Regions from separate parts of the Homo sapiens genome. Here region 1 is linked to region 2. Evidence: promoter capture Hi-C in 16 types of primary human blood cells and fetal thymus (Javierre and others, 2016). All regions are on one chromosome and are shown on one strand. Each heading gives the region's core, a stretch centred on a gene start or on the middle of the fragment in contact. The rest is flanking DNA. Distances are from core to core; before and after follow the strand shown.

Region 1 (3,990 bases), core at 1,289-3,788, 130 kb before region 2:
GTACGCGCCATGACCACACTCAACATCCAGTACGGAGACTCTGCACGCCAGGTGTGCCAGGAGGCGGGCTGAGCGGGCCTCTGGGGACTCGAGGCTCGCGGCTGGGCCCGAGTCCCTGGCCGCCACCAGCCACTCTCACCCTGCCCCCAGGACGACGCCCGGAAGCTGATGCACATGGCAGACACTATCGAGGAGGGCACGATGCCCAAGGAGATGTCGGACATCATCCAGCGGCTGTGGAAGGACTCCGGTATCCAGGCCTGTTTTGAGCGCGCCTCGGAGTACCAGCTCAACGACTCGGCGGGCTAGTGAGCGCGCGGGCAGCGCGGGGCGCGGGGCGCGGGGCGCAGGGGGCCCTCCACGCCTCCCCACCCACCTACGGCCGGGTCTCGCGCAGCTACCTCTCCGACCTGGAGCGCCTGGTAACCCCGGGCTACGTGCCCACCGAGCAGGACGTGCTGCGCTCGCGAGTCAAGACCACTGGCATCATCGAGACGCAGTTCTCCTTCAAGGATCTCAACTTCCGGTACGACCCATACGCTAGCCCAGGAGGTCACTGCCCCAGGCCCCGTCCTGCCCCGGGGACCCCATCCCTGCGATAGACCCTGCCCCTTCCCTGATACCCCGCCAGCAGAAAGGGTGGTAGTCCCGGCCGAGAGCTCCCCGACCAGCACAGGGCGAAGGGATGTTGCCTGTGGGGCCCGGGGCGCAGGTTCAGGCCCCCGCGGCCCCGCAGGATGTTCGATGTGGGCGGGCAGCGCTCGGAGCGCAAGAAGTGGATCCACTGCTTCGAGGGCGTGACCTGCATCATCTTCATCGCGGCGCTGAGCGCCTACGACATGGTGCTAGTGGAGGACGACGAAGTGGTGCGTGCCAGGCAGGGCCTGTGTTCCAGGGGGGCGAGGAGGAGCTGCTGGTCCCTGGAGGCGGAGACCGCGCGCTGGGCTGGGGGAGGGCACGGGAGGGGATGCCTGTCCCGGGCGGCCTGAGGAGGCCCGGAGGCGTTCAGCAGGCCCATCTGGGGCAGTGCGGGGAGCCCTCTGAGAGCCAGCTGAGCGGGAAGCCCCGCGTGCCCGGGAGCCCAGAGAGCAGGTGCTGCGGGTCGGACGCTACCCCGGGTGCCCAACAGCTGCTGCCCTCCTCAGAACCGCATGCACGAGAGCCTGCACCTGTTCAACAGCATCTGCAACCACCGCTACTTCGCCACGACGTCCATCGTGCTCTTCCTTAACAAGAAGGACGTCTTCTTCGAGAAGATCAAGAAGGCGCACCTCAGCATCTGTTTCCCGGACTACGATGGTGAGAAGTCCGCAAGGCCGCCAGGCGGCGCCCCCGCCCCACGATCGCGGCGCGCACCCCCCGCACGGGGAAGGAAGGGCTGAGCAGAGTGAGAGCTCCCGCCCCCGCAGGACCCAACACCTACGAGGACGCCGGCAACTACATCAAGGTGCAGTTCCTCGAGCTCAACATGCGGCGCGACGTGAAGGAGATCTATTCCCACATGACGTGCGCCACCGACACGCAGAACGTCAAATTTGTCTTCGACGCTGTCACCGACATCATCATCAAGGAGAACCTCAAAGACTGTGGCCTCTTCTGAGGTAGGTCGCTGCCCTCTCCAGGCTCTTGCCTCAATACCCCAGCCCCGTCCAGCTCCCCACCCCACACCACGGCCCTGGAGCCTCACCCCCAAATCCTGGAGCCTACTGCCTCCAGGCCCCACCCCAGCTCCTCAGGCTCCACCCCACCGACAGAGGCCCCGCCCCACCCCACAAGTCCCACCCATTGAATTTCTTTTGGCCCCGCCCCAAGACCTCAGGTGTCACAGCTTCCAGGGCCGCCCCACCACACACAATGCCTAAACCCATTTATTTTGGGTCTCAGGGATGCTGACTGGGTTTCCTTTTCACAGGTGCCTGAATTCATGCGTGTCAGTCACCCTGAGACCTGGTAGCCCTAGCTGCCTTGCAGCCCCAAACCCCAGGACCCTATCAGCCCCCTGGGACTCCCTGGCCCCAACCTGCCACCTCACCAAAGCTCTGAGCCCTGCTAGCCTTGAGGCGCGGACCCTCCCCCATACCTCCCACAGTATCCCAGCGCCTCATGCCCCCAACCCCAAGCCCTGCCCTTCACCGCCCGGCTGCACTGGCCTCTAGGACTCACAGCAGCCAGCCCCAGCTAGGAACGGGCAGGACTTGGGGCAGCTGAAGCTCACGGTGACTCAGCAGTGCCCAACTGACCAATCTCCCGCAGCTCTCCTGCCCCTGGGGGCCCACGACTCACCTGGTGGGCCTGGGCTCAGCAAACAGCCCTCCCTCCCAGTATTTCATCAAGGACAGGGAATATCCCTCCCACACACAGGCCAGCTGCTCACCCTGCCACCTCCATGTGACAAGTTTGACACCTGTCTACCCAGAGCCAGTGACTGTCCCTCCCAGCAGCCTCCAAAGGGTCCAAAGTCCAAGCTAGCTCTGGCCTGTGTGGCCCCCACATAAATAAATTAGTGGGGAGGGGGCAGACCTGGGGGCCCTTGGGTGCCAGAGTGAGACACAGCAGGACCCTTCCCCAAATACTAGGCTCAGAGCAACCTCCAGCCTTCTCCAGCAGGATCTGCTCCCTGTGTCCTTGGACAGCAGATCCACACACCACTTCCCCACCCACACACAGTACCCTGGGCTGGTTGGACAACAGGATGGTGTGTTAAGGGGTTAAGGGAGGGTACTGTTGACACCAGCTATGGCCAATAGCTGGGCTGTCCTGAGGGGTGGCTGGGGACAGAGTCCAGCTCCCTTGGATCAGCCCAGAGGATTCAGGATAGGACAAAGGCCCTGGCTGTGCCCAAAAGGGTCTACCTCAGGTGGGGTTACAAGCAAACCTGGGTGACCCTCTTGTCCCTACCAGCAGCTTCTCTTGCCCCTTCCATTCAGGGTTCCCTGGCAGGGGAAGCTGAGAGCCATGGCTGAACTATCAGGGACAAAGGCCCATGTCCCCACATCCCTGCTCCCTCCTTCCTCATCCAGCACCAAATCTTTGCTTATGTCCACAGGCCAGGGCCTGTGCTGCAGTCGGGGACAAGGAGCTTCCGTCTGGCAAGGCCGGGGCACAATTTGCACTCCCCTCAGCTAGACGCACAGACTCAGCAATAAACCTTTGCATCAGGCTCCAGCTGTCCTTTCTTGGTGGAGGACTTAATTATCACAAGTCATGGGCATTTATTAAGTGCCCAGTGCTGGGTTGGGCATGAAGTGGGAAGATGGCCCCTCCCAGGAAGAAGTACCTGGCCTGACAAGGTGGGGCACTCTTGGGGGTATGGGACCAACTCATGGCTTTTCACGGGAGTTGAGGAGAGAGGAGCTGTGGAAAATATTCACTGGGACAGTCTTGGATCAAGAGGGAGTTTTGAGGTGGAGGCTCATTCTGGCAGGGACCGTAGTGTCTACCAGCCCCAGAAACATGGGCTTATGGCCACAGGAGTTCAGTGGAGCAAGAGCAGGGGAGGAGAGACGTGGACAGGTGCCCAAAGCCAGTCGGAGGGCCTGGGCTTTCTCAGAAGGTGATGGAGAGTCTTGGAAGCCCTCGAGGCAGGAACATAATTGCAGGGCTGGGATTAGGGTGAGGGAAGTGAGGCACACTCACCTTGGGTGCAACATTTAAGGCGATGCCAAAAAATTTAGTAACCAAGGTAAATAATATTAGGATAATATTTTTAAAAATCAAATGAATGCAAAACCCCACAATGAATGAAATATCAAAATCCAACAGAGGATCAAACAGAGGCATGCTAAGATATATTGGGGCTTGAAGCAAAGGGAAAACTATTTGTTGCTATATGTTTGTAGGGATTTTTTGCCAGTTTTAAAAATACATGTATCATAAAGTTTACTATCTCAGCCACTTGCCGGTGTATAGTTTGGTGGTGTTAAGTACATTCATAATGTTGTACAACCACCGCAACTGTTCATCTCCAGAACTCCTTTCCTCTTGTAAAAC
Region 2 (3,825 bases), core at 1-2,500:
GGCCCTTTAAGACTCCAGTGCGGAGGTGGGCCCGGGATTGGACTTGCGGACGGGGCGGGAAGGTGTGGTCCACCTTTCTCGGTGCCGGTGCCTCGTTTCGGGCTCGAAGAGCCCCAGGTCCTCTGCAGAGGGACGTGGCCGCCCATTTAGGACCCTAATGCCCCTCTGAGCCGGGCTTTCTATGGGAGTCTCAGCCACGAGCGCCAGTCAGCCTGAAATGTTTCCCCTGCAGCCCGAGGCCGGTGGTTCAGTCCTCCCAGCTCCGCGGCGCCGCCAGCCCTTTAAAGAGACAGTGTGAGGGACAAGGCAGGGGGACGGGAAGGGGGGGGGGGGGAATAGGAGGAGGCGTTGCCCCGTTCGGCCATCAGGAGGTGCTGTGGTACTCCGAGGTTGGCAGGGGGCAGCACCAGATCTGGCTCTGCACCCCCTAACGTAGACGCCAGCCGTGGGTCCCCTTTGTGTGGAAAAAGGGACTTTGACCTGAGGCGACCTCTGGTCTCCTGGAGAGTAGTGCCCCGCCTCCCACGAATCAGGGGCCCCCTTCTCTGGTCCGCCGTCTAAAGGGAGGCCCCGCCCCCTGCCAGACTGAGGGAAGGGGCCAAGCACCGCTTCTTAGCCGGCCCAGGAAGGGCCGAGGCAGTCGTTATCCTGGCAGCCCGGCTCTGGGTCGCGGCGTGGCCGCAGGGTTGGGGTCAGGGAAGCTCAGAGGGGTCTAGGAGGTTGGCCGCCCCTCTCCCTGACTCGCATCAGGGCGGGACAGTCATCCCTGAGATCCCGTCCTTTTCTGCCCAGTCTCTGAGGTCCTTTGGGAGCCCGGCTCCCTCTCAACCCCGAGGAGGCCTCCATTCCTTGCAGCAGTTTCTGGCTGGACCTCCGAGAAAGCCAGCAAGAGGGGTCTCCCAGGGCCTCCATCCCGTATCCAGCGCCCCCTACGCTCCACAGGCCTCTCCCGGTGGGGGGCAGGCTTAGACCCTGGCGAGCCCCGTGCGAAACCACCTCGGCTCTTCCTAGGTCCGCTCCCTTGTGCGAGACTCAACTCCCAAAAGGGCCCGCGTCTGCACCACCAGCCCCTAACCCTCCCGGGCGCCAGGAGAGGGAGGGAGTGCAACTGCGAGCGCATCTGTGGGGGTGCAGACCAGCCGTCTGCTCTGGGCTCACCTGTGTGGGAGTCCGTCGGCCCAGTAGGTCGGTGGCCTCCCTCCTTCCTGGGGTGAGCCTCTCCAGCTAGGCTACTTGCGCCAGCTGCTGCCCGTTGGGCAGCTCGCCGAGGACTTGATAAACCCCATTCCCTCCCATCCGCTCCCGCCTCCCATCCCAGCCCTTTCTCCTCACTTCCTGCTGCCCCCTGAGAGGAAAGGGCCAGGAACAGGCGTGGGGGAGGAGATCGCCTTGACCCTGTTTCCCTCCAGAATGCCCTGCTGGCTGGCTGCCCTCCCCACCCTTCCCGAGTAGGATCTGGCCCCGCCAGCTGCGCCAGGTGACAGGAAGGCTATGGGCTCAGGATCAGGTGCCAATCTCCCCCACACCCACAGCTTCCAACACTAGGGAACCTCTTCACTCCTTCCCTAGGATTGGGGCCCATCCTCAAATCCAGTAGGGTGTGAGAGGATGGGGTCAGGTGGTGGTGCTTTTGGGAGTCAAAATACTTGGGGGTCGTTCAGCTGATGGTCCCCCAGAGCAGGTGCCCAAGAAGGGAACTAGCCTTGGGGGGAGGGTCGGGGGGACTTCCAGTAGCTGAGTCCGTTTTTTTCCACTGAGAGCTTCCGCATCCTGTGTGACAGGACAATGTGTTAGTGAGTGTGACTGTGTGGGTTGGGGAGGAGGGGATGGACTGGGAGGGTTCTGCAGAGTGCTTTCCTGCTGGAGTTCATTCCTGGATGGATTTCAGAGTCCACTATACAGAGTAGGGGGCTCCTTACAACATGGATGAGGAAAGGGGTATACTCCTCTGGGAGGGGTGTTCCTGTGGCTGGCCCTAGGGAGGACTGCAGCAAGGTTCCAGCAGACCTCTCCAGGGGTGCAAATCTACCTACCCTCAAATCACCCAGAGCCAACCCCTCAACAACCCAATGGCCCAATGCCCAGGAGCCTCTCCCCCAACAGAAGGCTGTGTGAGGGGTAGGTGAATACCCAGGAGTCTGGCCCTGAGGACCAAGGAGTCCAAGACATGGTAGGGGAAGGTGCAGTGTCCCTGTACCACTGTGCTGGCTTCACAGGGGCCAGAAGCCTTGAAAGCTCCATGGGTGGGGACCCCCGGGGAAACAAAGGCTAGGCCAGACTGTCCCAGGGCAGGGACACTTCCTCAGGCAGCCAGCAGGAAGGAAGTGAGCACAGCCCGGCGGGAGAGAGTGGGGAAGTGTTGCCTGACCCCCATTGTTTCCAGCGATGGGGTCAGCTGGGTAGGCCCAGCACAGGGAGTTCCCTCAGGCTGGGACAGTGGTGGTAGGAGACAGGATGCTATCTGGCATGGGAGAGCCCTGGGCCTTGAACAGCCAGTAGAGGGGGACCATGGAGGATGACAGGGCCTCATGTTTGGCATCTTATGGGGGTATGGGGAGGCACCCCACAGAACTGCAAGTCCAGGCTGGATATGGTGATCCTGCCCTAGCCTTGACAAGTTCAAACCTCCGAAAGACTGGCAGACCAGCTCCCTACACTCAGAAGCCTGTCCCTGAAATCTCCCCTCTTTAACTGGGAGTTGGACTGATAGTCAAAGCCTAAGCCTAGTAGAGAATCTGCCTTATAGCAGCCCCTGAGAAGTGCAGGCAGAATGACCACAGTGGGCAGGCTGCAGGTGATGAGAAGATGGGGGCAACAGACAGCAGGGGCAATACTAGTGGGCCGAGCCTTGCTTGCTGAAACAGCAGCCTGAGCTCATTCTCCCATGGTGTCCGCAGGCAGGCCTCAGAGGAGGCACATGAGTTTGGGTTGCTGAGCCTGGCAGTAGGCCAAAGGCGTGGGGACACCTATCTGGCTGCTGTCCATTAAAGCTGGGCCTTTGAGGTCCATGGGGGTCAGGCCATGACCCCACTTAGGATCAGCTGGCGATGCTACAGCTAAGACAGATATTCCAGAACTATCTTGGGTCACACTCTCTCACCTTAGATCAGGCAGGTGGGGCCAATCCTTAGTGAAGTATCCCAGGGCCTTCTGATTCCAAGGGTCACCACCACATGGATCACAACAGATAAATGAGTGCCCTCCCACCCTGCAGGGGGCCTGCAGTGAGGTCTGTGTGAACACACAGCCACCTGCTGGCCACAGTTGGGATGGCCACAGGCTGGGCTCAGACTTACTCTTGGGCTTTGCTGGTCATAGGGGGCCTGCCAGAGTCCTGTGCCAGGCCTACCTATTGAACCCAGGTGGTAGTCTAGACACTGGGTGTCAGAGCCCCCACAGGATGCCACTCTCATGTGCAGGATCTACAAATCATTTTATTGAAATTGAACAAATAACACAACAGTCTTCCTAAGCTAGGGGCCATCCTCCCCAAGCCATTTCCCACATTATAGAAGCACAGAGCTTGCACAGTACTTAAAAAAAAAGTCACCTCTATATAGAAATCAGACTCTGCCACGACATCATCATGGACTATTTACAAACCTTCACATTATAAGTATTCCTTTTATGGTTTTTCCCTCCTTTCTTTCCCTACCCAGGGGTTCTAGTGCTTTCCCTTGACTGATCCTGAAGGGGTGGGGGTTACTGTAAGGGAGGGGGTGGTAGGCTACTCATAACTACTGGCACCAGCCTTAGGGTGTTGTCCCTTACCACAAGGTGGTGAACAGTCCCCTCCCAATTGGAGGGGTGGAGGATTTGGTGCAA

The links. The method cuts DNA at HindIII sites, captures the fragments that hold promoters and counts their contacts. A CHiCAGO score of 5 or more calls a contact.
Region 1: a fragment that was not itself captured here is called in contact with the fragment with the promoter of HYAL2 in region 2 in 1 of 17 cell types (endothelial precursors); the score reaches 5.9 in endothelial precursors.

The regions. Positions count from the first base shown.
Region 1 is chr3:50,193,356-50,197,345 of GRCh38, forward strand. It overlaps GNAT1 (G protein subunit alpha transducin 1), which reads left to right. Exons shown (of 9, transcript NM_144499.3): 3 at 1-51; 4 at 151-308; 5 at 398-526; 6 at 737-866; 7 at 1,146-1,299; 8 at 1,410-1,601; 9 at 1,913-3,990. The coding sequence ends at 1,600. Among named protein-coding and RNA genes, the nearest start is that of GNAT1, 3.7 kb to the left of the region's middle. RefSeq lists enhancers at 11-527, 528-1,044, 997-1,056, 1,045-1,560, 1,613-2,144 and a silencer at 1,367-1,426. The HindIII fragment of the contact is 7,498 bases long and covers 1-3,990 here.
Region 2 is chr3:50,321,495-50,325,319 of GRCh38, forward strand. It overlaps HYAL2 (hyaluronidase 2), which reads right to left and starts at 1,251. Exons shown (of 4, transcript NM_003773.5): 1 at 1,159-1,251. It overlaps TUSC2 (tumor suppressor 2, mitochondrial calcium regulator), which reads right to left. Exons shown (of 3, transcript NM_007275.3): 3 at 3,415-3,825. RefSeq lists enhancers at 15-354, 988-1,661, 2,444-2,945 and a silencer at 3,154-3,343. The HindIII fragment of the contact is 6,890 bases long and covers 1-3,825 here.